Linked DNA regions of Homo sapiens: regions 2 and 3 are each linked to region 1. Evidence: promoter capture Hi-C in human tissues and cell types (Jung and others, 2019). All regions are on one chromosome and are shown on one strand. The core of a region is centred on a gene start or on the middle of the fragment in contact, and the rest is flanking DNA. Distances in the headings are between cores, read along the strand shown.

What was found. Contacts are between HindIII fragments. The study calls those that stand out against the background at their distance.
Region 2: a fragment that was not itself captured here is called in contact with the fragment with the promoter of TRIM28 in region 1 in 4 of the 25 tissues and cell types used here (H1 embryonic stem cells, heart left ventricle, ovary and 1 more).
Region 3: a contact is called between the fragment with the promoter of ZNF324B here and the fragment with the promoter of TRIM28 in region 1, in 1 of the 25 tissues and cell types used here (dorsolateral prefrontal cortex).

The regions. Positions count from the first base shown.
Region 1 is chr19:58,542,137-58,547,157 of GRCh38, forward strand. It overlaps TRIM28 (tripartite motif containing 28), which reads left to right and starts at 1,928. Exons shown (of 17, transcript NM_005762.3): 1 at 1,928-2,961; 2 at 3,289-3,401; 3 at 3,628-3,760. The coding sequence starts at 2,622. It also overlaps the pseudogene RN7SL525P. RefSeq lists enhancers at 1,103-1,607, 1,759-2,068 and silencers at 2,189-2,398, 2,479-2,638, 2,659-2,948. The HindIII fragment of the contact is 31,195 bases long and covers 1-5,021 here.
Region 2 is chr19:58,424,707-58,429,727 of GRCh38, forward strand. It overlaps a transcript of ZNF324B not described here. Among named protein-coding and RNA genes, the nearest start is that of ZNF132, 13 kb to the right of the region's middle. The HindIII fragment of the contact is 6,648 bases long and covers 1-5,021 here.
Region 3 is chr19:58,449,093-58,454,113 of GRCh38, forward strand. It overlaps ZNF324B (zinc finger protein 324B), which reads left to right and starts at 2,530. Exons shown (of 4, transcript NM_207395.3): 1 at 2,530-2,612; 2 at 4,604-4,730. The coding sequence starts at 4,610. RefSeq lists silencers at 2,236-2,562, 2,540-2,969. The HindIII fragment of the contact is 12,073 bases long and covers 1-5,021 here.

The sequences.
Region 1 (5,021 bases), core at 678-3,177:
CAGACAGGATTCTCACCCCACACACCCTGCTTCCCTCCTCAGACAGGATTCTCCCCACACACACCCTGCTTCCCTCCTCAGACAGGATTCTCCCCACACAGACCCTGCTTCCCTCCTCAGACAGGGATTCCCCTCCCCACACAGACCCTCTTTCCCTCAGACAGGATTTTCCCCCCACACACCCTGCTTCCCTCCTCAGACAGGATTCTCCCCACATACACCCTGCTTCCCTCCTCAGACAGGATTCTCCCCACACACACCCTGCTTCCCTCCTCAGACAGGATTCTCCCCACACAGACCCTGCTTCCCTCCTCAGACAGGGCTCCCCTCCCCACACAGACCCTCTTTCCCTCAGACAGGATTTTCCCCACACACACCCTACTTTCCTCCTCAGACAGGATTCTCCCCACACAGACCCTGCTTCCCTCAGACAGGATTCTCCCCACTCAGACCCTGCTTCCCTCCTCAGGCAGGATTCTCCCCACACAGAACCTGCTTCCCTCCTCAGACAGGATTCTCCCCACACACACCCTGCTTCCCTCCTCAGACAGGATTCTCCCCACACACACCCTGCTTCCCTCCTCAGACAGGATTCTCCCCACACAGACGCTGCTTCCCTCCTCAGACAGGATTCTCCCCACACAGACCCTGCTTCCCTCCTCAGACAGGGTTCCCCTCCGCACACACACCCTCTTTCCCTCAGACAGGATTTTCCCCACACAAACCCTACTTTCCACCTCAGACAGGATTCTCCCCACATGGACCTGCTTCCTTCCCTCCTTGGGATTCCCCACTGTTGAGGTTCAGTTTCCCCATCTGGAAAAGCATCAAAGTCAGGGTAGCTGCTGACGAAAACATGGGGAGGGGATGCCTTGGGGGGCTGGGTGGGATTTCACAGACTCATTGCTCTTTAGCCTCTTGTGATTTATATATATGTGTATATATATATATATATTTTTTTTCTTGATGGGGGGTTGGGGGGCCCGGCGTGGTGGCTCACACCTGTAATTCCAGCACTTTGGGAGGCCAAAGTGGGTCTATCATCTGACGTCGGGAGTTCGAGACCAGCCTGGCCAACGTGGTGAAACCCCGTCTCTATTAAAAATACAAAAATTAGCCAGGCGTGATGGCAGGCCCCTGTAATCCCAGCTACTCGGGAGGCTGAGGCAGAAGAATCGCTTGAACCCGGGAGGCGGAGGTTGCAGCGAGCCGAGATCGTGCCACTGCACTCCAGCCTGGGCAACAGAGCAAAACTCCGTCTCAAAACAAACACAAAAACCTTTCTCTCCTCTTTTGAGATGGAGTTTCACTCTTTTCTCCCAGGCTGTAGTGCAATGGCACGATCTCGGCTCACTGCAACCTCCGCCTCCCGGGTTCAAGCGATTCTCCTGCCTCAGCCTCCCGAGTAGCTGGGATTACAGGCGCCTGCCACCACGCCCGGCTACTTTTTGTACTTTTAGTAGAGACGGGGTTTCACCACGTTGGCCAGGCTGCTCTCGAACTCCTGACTTAAGATCCAACCGCCTCGACCTCCCAAAGTGCTGGAATTACAGGCGTGAGCCGCCGCGCCCGGCCACATTTTTCTCCATCTGTGGTCTAGGCTGGCGTGCAGTGGCACAATCCCGCCTCACTGCTGCCTCGGCCTCCTGGGCTAAACGGAGCTTCCCGACTCGCCTAAGAAAGTGGTGGGATTACAGGTATGAGCCACGGCGCCCGGCTGTGATCTACATTTGATTCAGTCAAGTTTCTGTGTTTCTCAAGTTTAACTATAGCGTGGTTAAAATCCAAAAGTCAGCACCCGAGCTCACACAGGAGCTTCCTCCCTCTTGGGATGGAGACTCTCCTCCCCTCTCCCTGGACACAGCCCTTCACTCGGTCTTGGCCCCGCCTACTTCTCCATCGGCCCTGCCCCCTATCCCGAACTCTTAGTGACGCAGAGGCTGGAGACGACTCTACGGCGGCGAAGAGACGCGGGTTGAGGAAGAGGGACGGATTGCCCATGCGCTTGGGCGCACAGCGGCCCGCTTCTGTGTGGTCTGGAGGTGGAGCTGAGAGGGGAATCACACTCTATAAAGGTTCGCATACCCCACTGGCGGATTCAATTGCGGCAGTGACGTCACAGAGGCCCCGCCCCGCCCCCACAAGAGCCCCACCGACGTGGGGTTGGCGGTGGTGGAAGGACTAGGAGTTGGCGCGTGCGTACTGGCGGCCTCTCCCGCACCGACCGGCCTGGGCCCCGCCCCCGGGCGTGAGGCGCCCAATGCGCGTGCGCGGCGGCGTCGGCGCCAGTTATTTCTGTCCCGCCCCCCGGCCTCGGCTCTTTCTGCGAGCGGGCGCGCGGGCGAGCGGTTGTGCTTGTGCTTGTGGCGCGTGGTGCGGGTTTCGGCGGCGGCTGAGGAAGAAGCGCGGGCGGCGCCTTCGGGAGGCGAGCAGGCAGCAGTTGGCCGTGCCGTAGCAGCGTCCCGCGCGCGGCGGGCAGCGGCCCAGGAGGCGCGTGGCGGCGCTCGGCCTCGCGGCGGCGGCGGCGGCAGCGGCCCAGCAGTTGGCGGCGAGCGCGTCTGCGCCTGCGCGGCGGGCCCCGCGCCCCTCCTCCCCCCCTGGGCGCCCCCGGCGGCGTGTGAATGGCGGCCTCCGCGGCGGCAGCCTCGGCAGCAGCGGCCTCGGCCGCCTCTGGCAGCCCGGGCCCGGGCGAGGGCTCCGCTGGCGGCGAAAAGCGCTCCACCGCCCCTTCGGCCGCAGCCTCGGCCTCTGCCTCAGCCGCGGCGTCGTCGCCCGCGGGGGGCGGCGCCGAGGCGCTGGAGCTGCTGGAGCACTGCGGCGTGTGCAGAGAGCGCCTGCGACCCGAGAGGGAGCCCCGCCTGCTGCCCTGTTTGCACTCGGCCTGTAGTGCCTGCTTAGGGCCCGCGGCCCCCGCCGCCGCCAACAGCTCGGGGGACGGCGGGGCGGCGGGCGACGGCACCGGTAAGTACGAAGTGATCGGTGCCACCCCTCCCCCTACTCTCTGCCTTTGATTCCGACTGGGTGCAGAGATGAGGATGCCACCTGGGCGAGAGGATGGGGGCCCGGACAGGGCACGGGAAATACTTTCTGGGTCCTGCATACGAACGTGGGTTTGTGCTGGCCGCTGAGATGGGACATCTGACTAAAGTTGGAGAAAAGAAGGCTCGGGGAGGGGAGGGGCTGGTTCGCTGCGGGATAATGGTCGGGGGCCCACCCAGCAGGGGAATGGTGGGGGCCATAACCTGGGTGGGAACTTGTAACAGTCTCCCACATCCCTGCTTCTCGAAGTGGTGGACTGTCCCGTGTGCAAGCAACAGTGCTTCTCCAAAGACATCGTGGAGAATTATTTCATGCGTGATAGTGGCAGCAAGGCTGCCACCGACGCCCAGGATGCGAACCAGGTGCGTCCTATCTCAGCAACCACAAGGAGGTTTCTGGGGAGGGGGCATCTGCGCAGGAGGAGCTTGGCACCAGCTCCAGGCTGTTACTCCACTTTCCCAAGGCTCTGGGTGGGCTGCCTAGGTTGGGTCAAGGGACCAATCTTAAATCTCCGGTTGTATTTTCTGGGATGTAAACGTGGATCTATCAAGTTGTCTTGCCTTCTCTGACCCTGCCTTTGTCTGGCAGTGCTGCACTAGCTGTGAGGATAATGCCCCAGCCACCAGCTACTGTGTGGAGTGCTCGGAGCCTCTGTGTGAGACCTGTGTAGAGGCGCACCAGCGGGTGAAGTACACCAAGGACCATACTGTGCGCTCTACTGGTACATGAGGCTGAGGGGGGCTGTTGGAGTTGTTCTCCCATGTGTGCCCTCAGTTGCTTTTATGATGTTGGTTGCATCTGGTGGATGGGTCCTAGAGTTCTCTAGGGGGTGCCGCCCGAAGGGCCCGAGGGCAGAACTCCAGAAGCAGAAAAACTGGGGTTGTGGTGTGTAGTCTCTAGGGCCTAGGTGGGAGAGGGTGGGAAGGGGAAATAAGGGAGACCTTAATGTGCTGCAGGGAGGTACAAAGGGTTTGAGAAGGCTTATCAGGGAGTTGTCAGACCTGGTGGTGAAGGGCTCAGCATATGCAAACAGGGAAAGGCATGGTGTGAAGGGCTTTCTGGGTTTGTGGTTCCCTGGCACACATCTGGTATAAGATGCTGCTAGGGAAAGTAGACTGTGGGTCCATGGATTATAAGTGATGATGATTTTTGGAAGTGTTTTAGCTTTTGAGTTGGCAGAGACTTACCCAAAGTTTGGTTTGGCATTTCCAGCTTTTCACAGACACAGCTAGCTTTGGTTTGGAAGGAGCTTGAGAGTCTTTTGAGTCTAGCCAAGTTTTGGGGCCAGAATCCTCCCATGAGTGGCCTTTTGGTAGCCATACTGTGATTCTTCCCATCCCAGAGGACAGCATTGGTGGAAGATAGCGGGAAGGTGGTGGCTGTGGGGCCTGAGCAGCCAGGAGGGATACGCAGGGGCTGCAGGGTGTCCTACATTCCAGACGTCCCAGGCAAAGGTCAGGGTGCAGGAATGAGTGGCATTGGGGAAGTCAGTTTCCCCAATGAGCCCTGATGCTACATATTTTGGATTTGGTTGGTATGTGGGACCAGTGTGTTTGATCAGTTTTCTAATGGGGAGACAGGCTTTGGAGGTTATTAATGGGTTGGTCTTTGGGTGGGATTATGCTGAGCACCAAGATTCTGCTCTAGAGGGGGTGTGACCACCATTCTGAGGGTCCTGGTTTGACATTTCATCTCTCCCAGTATGAGAACCTCTACAAGGTTTCCTCTGGGCCCTTGGATTGTAAGAGACCCTGGTGTTCTCTTGTCAGGGAAGAGGGAGGAAGTTAACCATGAAAGGAGAAGAAAAGGAATCCAGGGTGGTGTGTAGGCAGAATTCTGAGTATGTCCACTTGGAGAAGTGTTCAGTAAAGGGAACAGTGTGGGGAAGGGTCAGCGGGGGTGGGGGGTGGGGTGGGGTGGTCCTCTTTTTCTAGACGCTGTTATCCTTACCCTTACATTGTTGTTATCTCTAGAAGCTAGAA
Region 2 (5,021 bases), core at 1,613-4,112, 120 kb before region 1:
GAGTGCACCTGTAGTCCCAGCTACATTGGGCAGGAGGATCTTTTGAGCCCAAGAGTCCAAGTCCAGCCTGGGCAACATAGCCAGACCCTGTCTCAAAATAAAAACAAAAACAAAACAAAACAATTAAACATACACCTACCATATACCCCCAAAATTCCACTTCTAAGTATCTACCCAAGAGAATTCAAAGGATATATTAACACAAGGACTTGTACACAAATGTTTATAGCAGCTTCATTTGAGATAGTCAAAAGTTAGAAACAATTTGGCCAGGCACTGTGGCTCATGGCTGTAATCCCACCACTTTGGGAGGCCGAGGCGGGTGGATCATGAGGTCAGGAGTTTGAAACCAGCATTGCCAACGTAATGAAACCTGTCTCTACTAAAAATACAAAAAAAATCAGCCAGGCGTGGCGGTGCACACCTGTAGTCCCAGCTACTCAGGAGGCTGAGGCAGGGGAATTGCTTGAACCCAGGAGGTGGAGCTTGCCGTGAGCCGAAATTGCGCCACTGCACTCCAGCCTGGGCGACAGAGCCAGACTCCATCTCAAAAAAAAAAAAAAGATGGGGTCTTGCTCTATTGCCCAGGCTGGTCTTAAACTCCCCGGCTCAAGTGATCCTCCTGCCTTGGCCTACCAAAGTGCTGGGATTACAGGCGTGAGCCATCACGCCCGACTGAACCTCTTTTCCTTATAAACTATCTAGACTTAGATTTTTCCTTCCTTCCTTCCTTCCTGTCTTCCTTCTTCCTTCCTTCCTTCTTTCCTTTTTTTTTTTTTTTTAGACAGAATTCTGCTCTTGTGGCCCAGGCTGGAGTGCAATGCCGTGATCTTGGCTCATTGCAACCTCTGCCTGCCGGGTTCAAGCAACTCTCCTACCTCAGCCTCCCGAGTAACTGGGATTACAGCCGCCACCACCACGCCTGGCTAATTTTTTGTATTTTTAATAGAAACGCCGTTTCACCATGTTGGCCAGGCTGGTCTCAAACTCCCAACCTCAGGTGATCTGCCTGCCTGGGCCTCCCAAAGTGCTGGGATTACAGGCATGAGCCACCATGCCCAGCCTGAGATATTTCTTTATAGTAACACAAAAACAGCCTAACAAAAAGGTCACATAGTAGGTAGGATTTAGTAAGAAAGAGAGCTGAGATTTCAAGGCAGGTGAACTGGGTCTAATGTTTCCACTGCTTTACTCACCTCTCCCTACCTCTAGATTTCCACCCTCCCATGTTGAAATCTCTTGGTTATAAATTTTCACTTGTGCTTCTTTCTTAGATCACCTTCTTGAATCACAGTGGTGTCTATTTTCATATCCATTGAGGGTATAGTGATTCCTTGAGGGTTACAAGGTCTGCAGATCGATGAGTTCTTGGCATTTTGGAGAGGCCAGAGACTGGTAGCTCTGAGTCATTAGTTGTCAGGCCATGCCTCCCCATCAAACAATCGAAGCTTGGCTGACTTCTCTGAGTGCCAGAAGAAGGCTGGGGCTGGGGGTAGAGGATCTGGGTTTCACAAGAGGCGAGTCTGGAAATGTCAAAATTGGGGTCCAAGGTGAGAGGATGGCGTGGTAGGACAACATTGTCTGCCATCCGTGTATAATGGCTGAAGCTCTGGTTAGTGGGTGTGGCCTAAGGAGAATGTAGTGATTCCCACTGTCGGTGTAAAGGGCTTCATATTGATGGAGAGTTTTCTGTGTTGTCAGAAGTTCTGGTGGACACTGTGAGACAGATTTCATGGATTTATAGATGAGACAGCTGAAGCTTGGGAGTCTGTGCCCCAGATCGCACAATTTATTAGCAGTAGGAGTCCAAGTTGAGCCAAGCCAGAGAAGGTTACTGAGTGTTTTGGCACCCTTGGCCTTAATCTGCTGCTCTTCAGATTTCACAGCCCCCATGTTCCAGATAGTTCACTCAAAGCTTGGGAGTTGGAGATGAGGGAATCAACAGATGCTGACACTAGCATGAAGGAGAGGTATAGCTGATCTGGAGGTATGATTGGGAGAGGTTGAGAAGCCTTTCAAGGGTGTCCCTGATGTGGGAGGGCACAAGCAAAGGCCCAGGGGCAAGGAACTGCCCAGTAGATTCCAGAAGAGAACTACCATTGCATACAGCAGAGTGTACAATAACAGGGTAGTCAGTACACTGCATCAAGGGGCTGAAGGCAACTGCCTTTTGGTTTGAGCATAGTCTGAAAGCAGTGGAGCCACTGAATCCCACAAAAGCTGGTAACCTGGACAGCTCAAAAGTCACAGCCATCAGGACTTTGCCTGGAATATTCTGGCATTATTGGCAAACATCTATCTTCCCCTAACAGGTTGGCTGCTGTATACTGAGACCCAGTCGGAGATCAGAAGGCAGGTTCAGTAGAAACACGTAGGACTCTACTCATGTATTAGGAATCTTTTTTTTTTCCTTTTTTATTTTTATTTTTTATTATTTTTTTGAGACGGAGTTTCACTCTTGTTGCCCAGGCTGGAGTGCAATGGCGTGATCTCAGCTCACTGCAACCTCTGCCTCCCAGGCTCAAGCAATTCTCCTGCCTCCTGAGTAGCTGGGATTACACGCATGCGCCACCATGCCTGGCTTTTTTCTTTCTTTCTTTCTTTCTTTCTTTCTTTCTTTCTTTCTTTCTTTCTTTCTCTTTCCTTTCTTTCTTTCTTTCTTTCTTTCTTTCTTTCTTTCTTTCTTTCTTTCTTTCTTTCCTTCCTTCCTTCCTTCCTTCCTTCCTTCCTTCCTTCCTTTCCTTTCCCTTCCTTCCTTCCTTCCTTCCTTCCTTCCTTCCTTCCTTCCTTTCTTTCTTTTTCTTTCTTTCTTTCTTTCTTTCTTTTCTTGTAGAGATGGGATTTCTCCATGTTGGTCAGGCTGGTCTCAAAGTCCCAACCTCAGGTGATCCGCCCGCATTGGCCTCCCAAAGTGCTGGGATTACATGCGTGAGCTACCGCGCCCAGCCTTTTTTTTTTCCTGTTTTAGAGACAAGGTCTCATTATGTTGCCCAGGCTGGAGTGCAGTGGTGCAAACATAGCTCACTGCAGTCTTGAACTCCTGGGATCCAGTGATCCTCCTGCCTCAAGTAGCTGGAAACAGGCATGCCACAATCATGCCCAGCACCATCTTATGAGATCTAATCTTGGCCACTCACACAGAGGATTGAGCTCTGATGACGTGTCTACCCTAACTTTATTTGCTTAGAAGGCTGAGCCCCATATGGCTCAGCTAACCTTTAATTCTGATCCCACATGTGTCTTACATATTGGAGACATTAGCATCTTCCATATTGGAGACATTACACTCAGGAAGGAAGGCCTGAGTAGGGTAGGTATCCCCCAGACACCTCACTGTGCTGGGGAGTATTTGAGAAGCCCTGCTGTAAACTTTGCTGACGGCAAAACTGTTGTGGCTTCTGCTCACAATGTGGTTATCATTGTCCATCCCCTCAGGGGCTTCCAGGAGACGTGGCAGCTGCAGTGGCCTCTGATCCATCATACAGTATGGATGGACACCACAGGCCAAAGATTCTCATGTCAGAGGATTTCCGGTCTTTTCTCCCCTAGGCCTCAGGAGGACCCAGGGAAATATCTAAAGCCAACCTATAGTTTTGGTGAACTGAGTTTGCATTGAAATGTTTTTGGAAATGATTTTCAACATTTATAAAATCACATGCCACATAGAAATCTGAATATTTGGCTCTTCTTGGAAAACCAGGAGATATGGGAAATCTGTACTGACTCCACCATATTGTCTCCCCACCCCTTAAGAGGGACAGACCTGCTTGGTGGCCACCAGAAGTGGAATTATGAAGGCCACGGCCATATGATTCTCAAGAAACCCTGGCTACTCACATAAGCCACTCCAGACCATGATTTCTGTCTTCTCTGTCTTGAGGTGCCTACCTGTGCAGTGATGGCCATGAGATGAACAGCCCAGGGAGTCCACAGGAAATCCACAAAATATTTATTTGAATTTCAGTTATGAGTGACACATAGGTCTGCATGTCCTGAGAAGTTCTGTACACCCTTATCTCACTTGGCCATAGTCATTGGAAGTTTCTGATGTGCGTTTAGAACAGACATGTCCCCTCTTGTCTACCACAGTCTTCTCCACACTTAGAGTTTTTGTACCAATGATAGTTCCCACATAGCCCTGGCAGGTCTGAACCAGTTATGCCTGCCTACTGAGTTTTATATTTCATGAGTCATGAGCCATGGGCAGGTACTGGGGGATGTAGCTGGTAAAGTGGGACATGCATTGGGAACAGAGGACCAAACTTTTGCTGTGGAGGTTCTCAAAGAAACTACCCCATTCTTCAGAGCTAGCTCTGGGCCCACAGGTGACCCTTGGTGTCCAGATCACAAGATTCAGTCCAAGCCTGTCAGTCTTTCATAGGAGGCCTTAGGGCAACAAGACAAATTCAACCAAAACTGGACTGAGCACTCTTCCTGCCCATGCGGCTGTTTGAGACACTCAGTGCCCCCTTACAAAAGCTGTTCTTTTTATATTAGGATGAATTGTTTCAAACCACCTCACCAACTCTGATGCAGGTGGCTAAACATTAAGGCCTTTGTTATCTCAGAGAGAGACAGGCAGATCCAGGAGTGAGTGATTGAGACTAAACAGATCATTCCTAAGTGTCACATGTAGATGCAAACAATGTCCATGAAGAGAAACCTTTTCTTCTATTTTAGATGGAGTCTCACACTGTCGCCCAGGCTGGAGTGCAGTGGCACGATCTCGGCTCACTGCACACCCTGCCTCCCAGGTTCACACCATTCTCCTGCCTCAGCCTCCTAAGTAGCTGGGACTACAGGCACCCGCCACCACACCTGGCTAATTTTTTGTATTTTTAGTAGAGGTGGGTTTTCACCATGTTAGCCAGGATGGTCTCGATCTCCTGACCTCATGATCTGCCTGCCTCAGCTTCCCAAAGTGCTGGGATTATAGGCATGAGCCACTGTGCCCGGCCAAGAAACCTTTTCTGGAAAGCTCCAGAAGACACCAGCTCAGATCTTAGCAAGAATTGTCATAC
Region 3 (5,021 bases), core at 1,280-3,779, 92 kb before region 1:
CTGCATCCCAGCTGCTTGAACTATGGCTAAAAGGAGCCAAGGTACAGCTTAGGCTGTGGCTTCAGAGGGTGCAAGCCTCAAGCCTTGGCAGCTCCCATGTGGTGTTGAGCCTGTGGGTGCACAGAACTCAAGAACTGAGGTTTGGGAACCTCCACCTAGATTTCAGAAGATGTATGGAAATGCCCAGATTTGGAGCAGGCAAAAGTTTGCTGCAGGGGCAGGGCCCTCATGGAGAACCTCTGGTAGGGCAGTGCTGAAGGGAAATGTGGGGTTGAAGACCCCACACTGAGTCCCCACTGGGGTACTGCCTAGTGGAGCTGTGAGAAGGGGGCCACCATCCTCCAGACTCCAGAATGGTAGATACAACCAACAGCTTGGACCACGCACCCGGAAAAGTCACAGACACTCAACACCAGCCCATGAAAGCAGCTGGGAGGGAGGCTGTACCCTGCAAAGCCACAGAGCTGCAGCTGCCCAAGACCATGGGAACCCACTGCTTGTATCAGTGTGACCTGGATGTGAGACATGGAGTCAGAGGAGATTATTTTGGAACTTTAAGATTCGACTGTCCTGCTGCATTTCAGACTTTCGTGGGGCCTTTAGCCCCTTTCTTTTGGCCAATTTCTCCCATTTGGAATGGGTGTATTTATCCAACGGCTGTACCCCAATTGTATCTAGGAAGTGACTAACTTGCTTTTGATTTTACAGGCTCATAGGAAGAAGGGAATTGCCTTGTCTCAGATGAGATTTTGGACTGTGGACTTTTGAGCTAATGCTGAAATAAGTAGACTTTGGGGGACTGTTGGGAAGGCACGATTGGTTCTGAAATGTGAGCACGAGATTTGGGAGGGGCGAGGAACAGAATGATATGGTTTGGCTGTGTCCCCAACCAAATCTCATTTTGAATTGTAGCTTTCATAATTCCCACATGTTGTGGAAGGGGCCCCAGTTAGAGGTAACTGAGTCATGGGGACAGTTTCCCCCATACTATTCTTGTGGTAGTGAGTAAGTCTCACGAGATCTGATGGTTTCATAAGGGGTTTCCTCTTTTGCTTGACTCTCATTTGCTCTTGCCTGCTGCCATGTAAGACGTGCCTTTCACCTTCTGTCATGATTGTGAGGCCTCTCCAGCCACGTGGAACTATGAGTCCACTAAACCTCTTTTTCTTTATAAATTACCCAGTCTCAGATATGTCTTTATCAGCAACGTGAAAACAGACTAATACACCAGGCATCGTGGCTCCTGCCTGTAGTTCCAGCTACTTGGGAGGCTGAAGTTGGAGGACTGTTTGAGCATGGGAGGCGGAGGTTGCAGTGACCCGAGTATGCACCACTGCACTCCATCCTGGGTAAGAGAGTGAGACCCTGTCTCAAAAAAAAAAAAAAAAAAGTAAAAAAAAATTGCTTGAAATGTTAATAATGCCTCTAAGCATTTGATTAAATCACAATAGTACTTAAGTGTTCTTAAATTCTTTCAAAGCAGGAAAAATTTAAATAAAAACATTCAAAAATTGTCGAGCTATCTTACACTATAGGGATCTACAAGTAGAATCAATTCTGTGGACAGTTATAGCTGACAGTAGACAGATATTTATAGATGGAGGTGGGTATAGAGGAAGACAAAATGAATTAACGTACTTGACATCTGAGAACTGTCTAAGGATCCTAAAAACAAGACCCTCACAGGGAAGCAACAAAGAGAGAATCGTTTATTCTCTGCCAACAACATGGTCAGTCTACATTGAGACTGCCCTGCCTTTTGTTGTTATGTGTCAAAGACACTTAGATTGGTCCAGAGAAAAAAGGAACAAAGCATCCATGTTGTGATGTGTGGGGCAAAGCAAGAACTAGATGGTCTAAGGACAAGCAAGGCTGGGGAATTACCTTCTGCTCGTCCAAGTTACAAGGAAAACAAGTTTTGGGCGAGCGTCCAAGAACAATCACAGAATCAAGACAAATGACAAGCGGGTAGTGTCATTACAGGCTGAGAATTCTTGGTGTAGAGGTTGAAAAACGGACCTTAAACCTTTACGGGACACTGACACACAGAGAGATCAAACCCTCGCCCAGGATGCACAGTCAGTGAGATGCAAAGCTGGGAAGGGAACCCGGAGCTCCAGGCATCTGCTCCTCCACCTACACCTGCCCTACCCGGTGCGTTTTCTCCTCCCTGCTACCTGCTGGTGTTGCCTTCTGGAACCTCCGCAGTTTCTGCTTTCACACCTGCAGGGTTTAGTCTCCAGGGCTGCTTAGGTGGGTGCCAGGAACTGGGAATCCCCAACGCGGGACAACCTGCCGGGCGACTCAACCAGTGCCACGGAGCCCTTGGAAACCCGCGGCAGCTGCGCTACTCCATTTCCAGGCGCCCAGCGCGGCGGCGCTTAGCCGTTGCCATGGAGACTGGTAATGGCCCCGCCTCCGCGCCGAAAAACAGGCAGGAACCACATAACCCAGAAGGCTGTGCGCAAGCGTCTGCGCGCGTATTGGGGCAATGTGAGCTCTGGGGGCTGGACTTCCGGCGTTGGGACTGTCACTTGGCTGCTCGCGTCAGGCCACACCGGTGGTCTGGGCTGTGGCGCGCGGGTCGGGGCCCGAGGCGGGCGGCCAGGAAGGTACGGACCACGAGCAGCCGGCCGCGCCCCCAAGCCTCGGTATCTTCGAGTATGACGTGGTCGGCCCGGGGGCGGTCGGGCCCCGGCGGGAACCACGCGTTCTCCCGCCCCGCGGAAGCCCAGGAGGCAGCGCATTGGGCATTCTGCGCCCATGACTGCCGGGCAGGCTGAGGCGCGGGGCAGCCGCGGGAGGCTGCTGGCGGGGATGGCGGTCCCGGGTGGTCCATGCCTTTCTTCCCTCCCAGTTGCGGGTTCCGCTGGCGGCGGTGGCGCTGACAAGCCCGCGCCGGGGGGGCGGGGGAGTCCCTGCTCACACAGACTGCGCCCCCACGGAGTGAGGCCGCTTCCTAGACCTCGCCTAGTCGTCTTTCCTCTCCCTGCCCTGGGGGGGTTGCGGGGGTCAGTGCAAACTCCTGCGTCCAGGGCACTGGTGAGCTCCCGACTTCCGGCAGCCAGGGGGCTGAGGTCCCGAAGGAGGCTCCGAGGGGAGAGTCCTGCGTGTGCAAAACCTGGGAGGGGAGCCGAAGCCCAGATGCTTCTGGGACTGAGCGCTCTCGATGTGGAGCTGGAGTAGAGGGGATGTGTGCGGCTGCAGTAGCAGGCGAGGGAGTGGGCTTTATCTCGAGGGCGTCGGGAGACATAGAAGTTTTGAACAGAATCAGGACATCCTCTGAGTTGGGACTTTAAAACGGTTCCACCGTTTGTTGCGTGGAGAACAGACATGCAGGGGTGTCGGCATGAAGGGAAGAACCGACTGCCACAGTCTGGGCAGCAGTGGAGGTGGGCGACCAGGTGAATTCTGGTGGATCTGCGGATGCATCAGGTGTGGGCTGTTTGAAGAACTAAGTACCCCATGTTGTTCAGCCTGAGCGCCTGGAAGAAGAGAGCTGCTGTAGATAGAAAGGAGAATTGAAAGGAAAGCAGGTTTCCTTCAGGGGAAAGATCAAGAGTCTGGGATGTCCCAGGTTGGTCATGTCACTGGACCTGACGTTGTTGGTGTCCTGGGCTGAGGACAGGGCCTATAAACTGGACTGAAGAAGGCGATGAGCAGTCAGGCGTGCGGAGTTACAGCTTGAGGGTAAAGAAAACCGGCTGGGGTGCCTGAGGCTATCAGGGGAGGAGTTCGGCAGGTGGCTGAATAGGAGAGGGTGGCAGCAATGTGGGAAAGAAATTGCGGGAGCGCTGAGATCGAGACCATCCTGGCTCACACAGTGAAACCCGGTCTCTACTAAAAATCCAAAAAAATTAGCCAGGTGTGGTGGCGGGAGGCTGAGGCAGGAGAATGGCGTGAACCCGGGAGCCGGAGCTTGCAGTGAGCCGAGATTGCCCCACTGCACTCCAGCCTGGGTGACGGAGTGAGACTCCGTCTCCAAAATAAAAATAAATAAATAAATAAATAAATAAATAAATAAATAAATAAATAAATTGAGGAGGGGGCGCCATGTGGAGGGAGGAAGGGATTGAGTTCCCCTGTGTTCACAGGTTCTTGGGGCTGCACCCCTATGACGACTGGTGGGGATCATCCAGTCCCTCAGGCTGGATGAGCAGCCTGGAAATGTCAGGCAAGCGCAGCAGGGGAAGGTCTCAGTGATGGGCATGCCTGGGGGGTCCACAGCTGGGACTTACACCCTTGCTTATTACAAAAGCAAGAAGGGCACATCTGGGGAGGGTCATGAATGGTCATGCTGAGTCACGAGTGGATATTTGGGGCTGCCCTTGGTGTGGCAGCTAAGGGCCCAGCCAGGGCTTGCTCTAGCCTGCTTGTGTAGGGGTGGCCAGTGGGGAAGTCAAGAAGCCATCTGGGGCCTGGACCAGGAGGGCAGAGGGGAGGGGTCCCAGACAGGTGAGGGAAGTGCCACCTGAAGATAATCTCGGGGTGGAACCCAAGGAAGGAGGGACACTGGGGGAGGTGACTGTTGGGATGGGGAGCTTGGTCCTGGCTCACAGCCATACCTTAGACCATGCCTACCTCCACCTCCCTGCTGTTTTAGGACCTGATGACCTTCGAGGATGTGGCCGTGTACTTCTCCCAGGAGGAGTGGGGGCTCCTGGACACAGCGCAGAGGGCCCTGTACCGCCACGTGATGCTGGAAAACTTCACACTTGTGACCTCACTTGGTAAGGCCCTGGGTGCTCCATGAAAAGTGCACTTGGTGACAATCAGGACTGCCTCTTCACTTCCCTCCTGGTTGATGAGCAGGATCAAATCTGGCCAGGGCCACGTGGAACAAGGGTCTGGTCCTGTAGACACAAAGTTTGGTTGGGTCAGCCACTCCTTGCCGCCCTGTCCAGCTGTGGCCTCTCTCATGCCTGGGCTCAGTCCCGTTGCTTTGGTGCTCTGGGCACAGTTGCTGCTCTGGGGACACATGAGCTATTCCTATGAGCCCCTTGCCCTGTGCTATCTTTAGA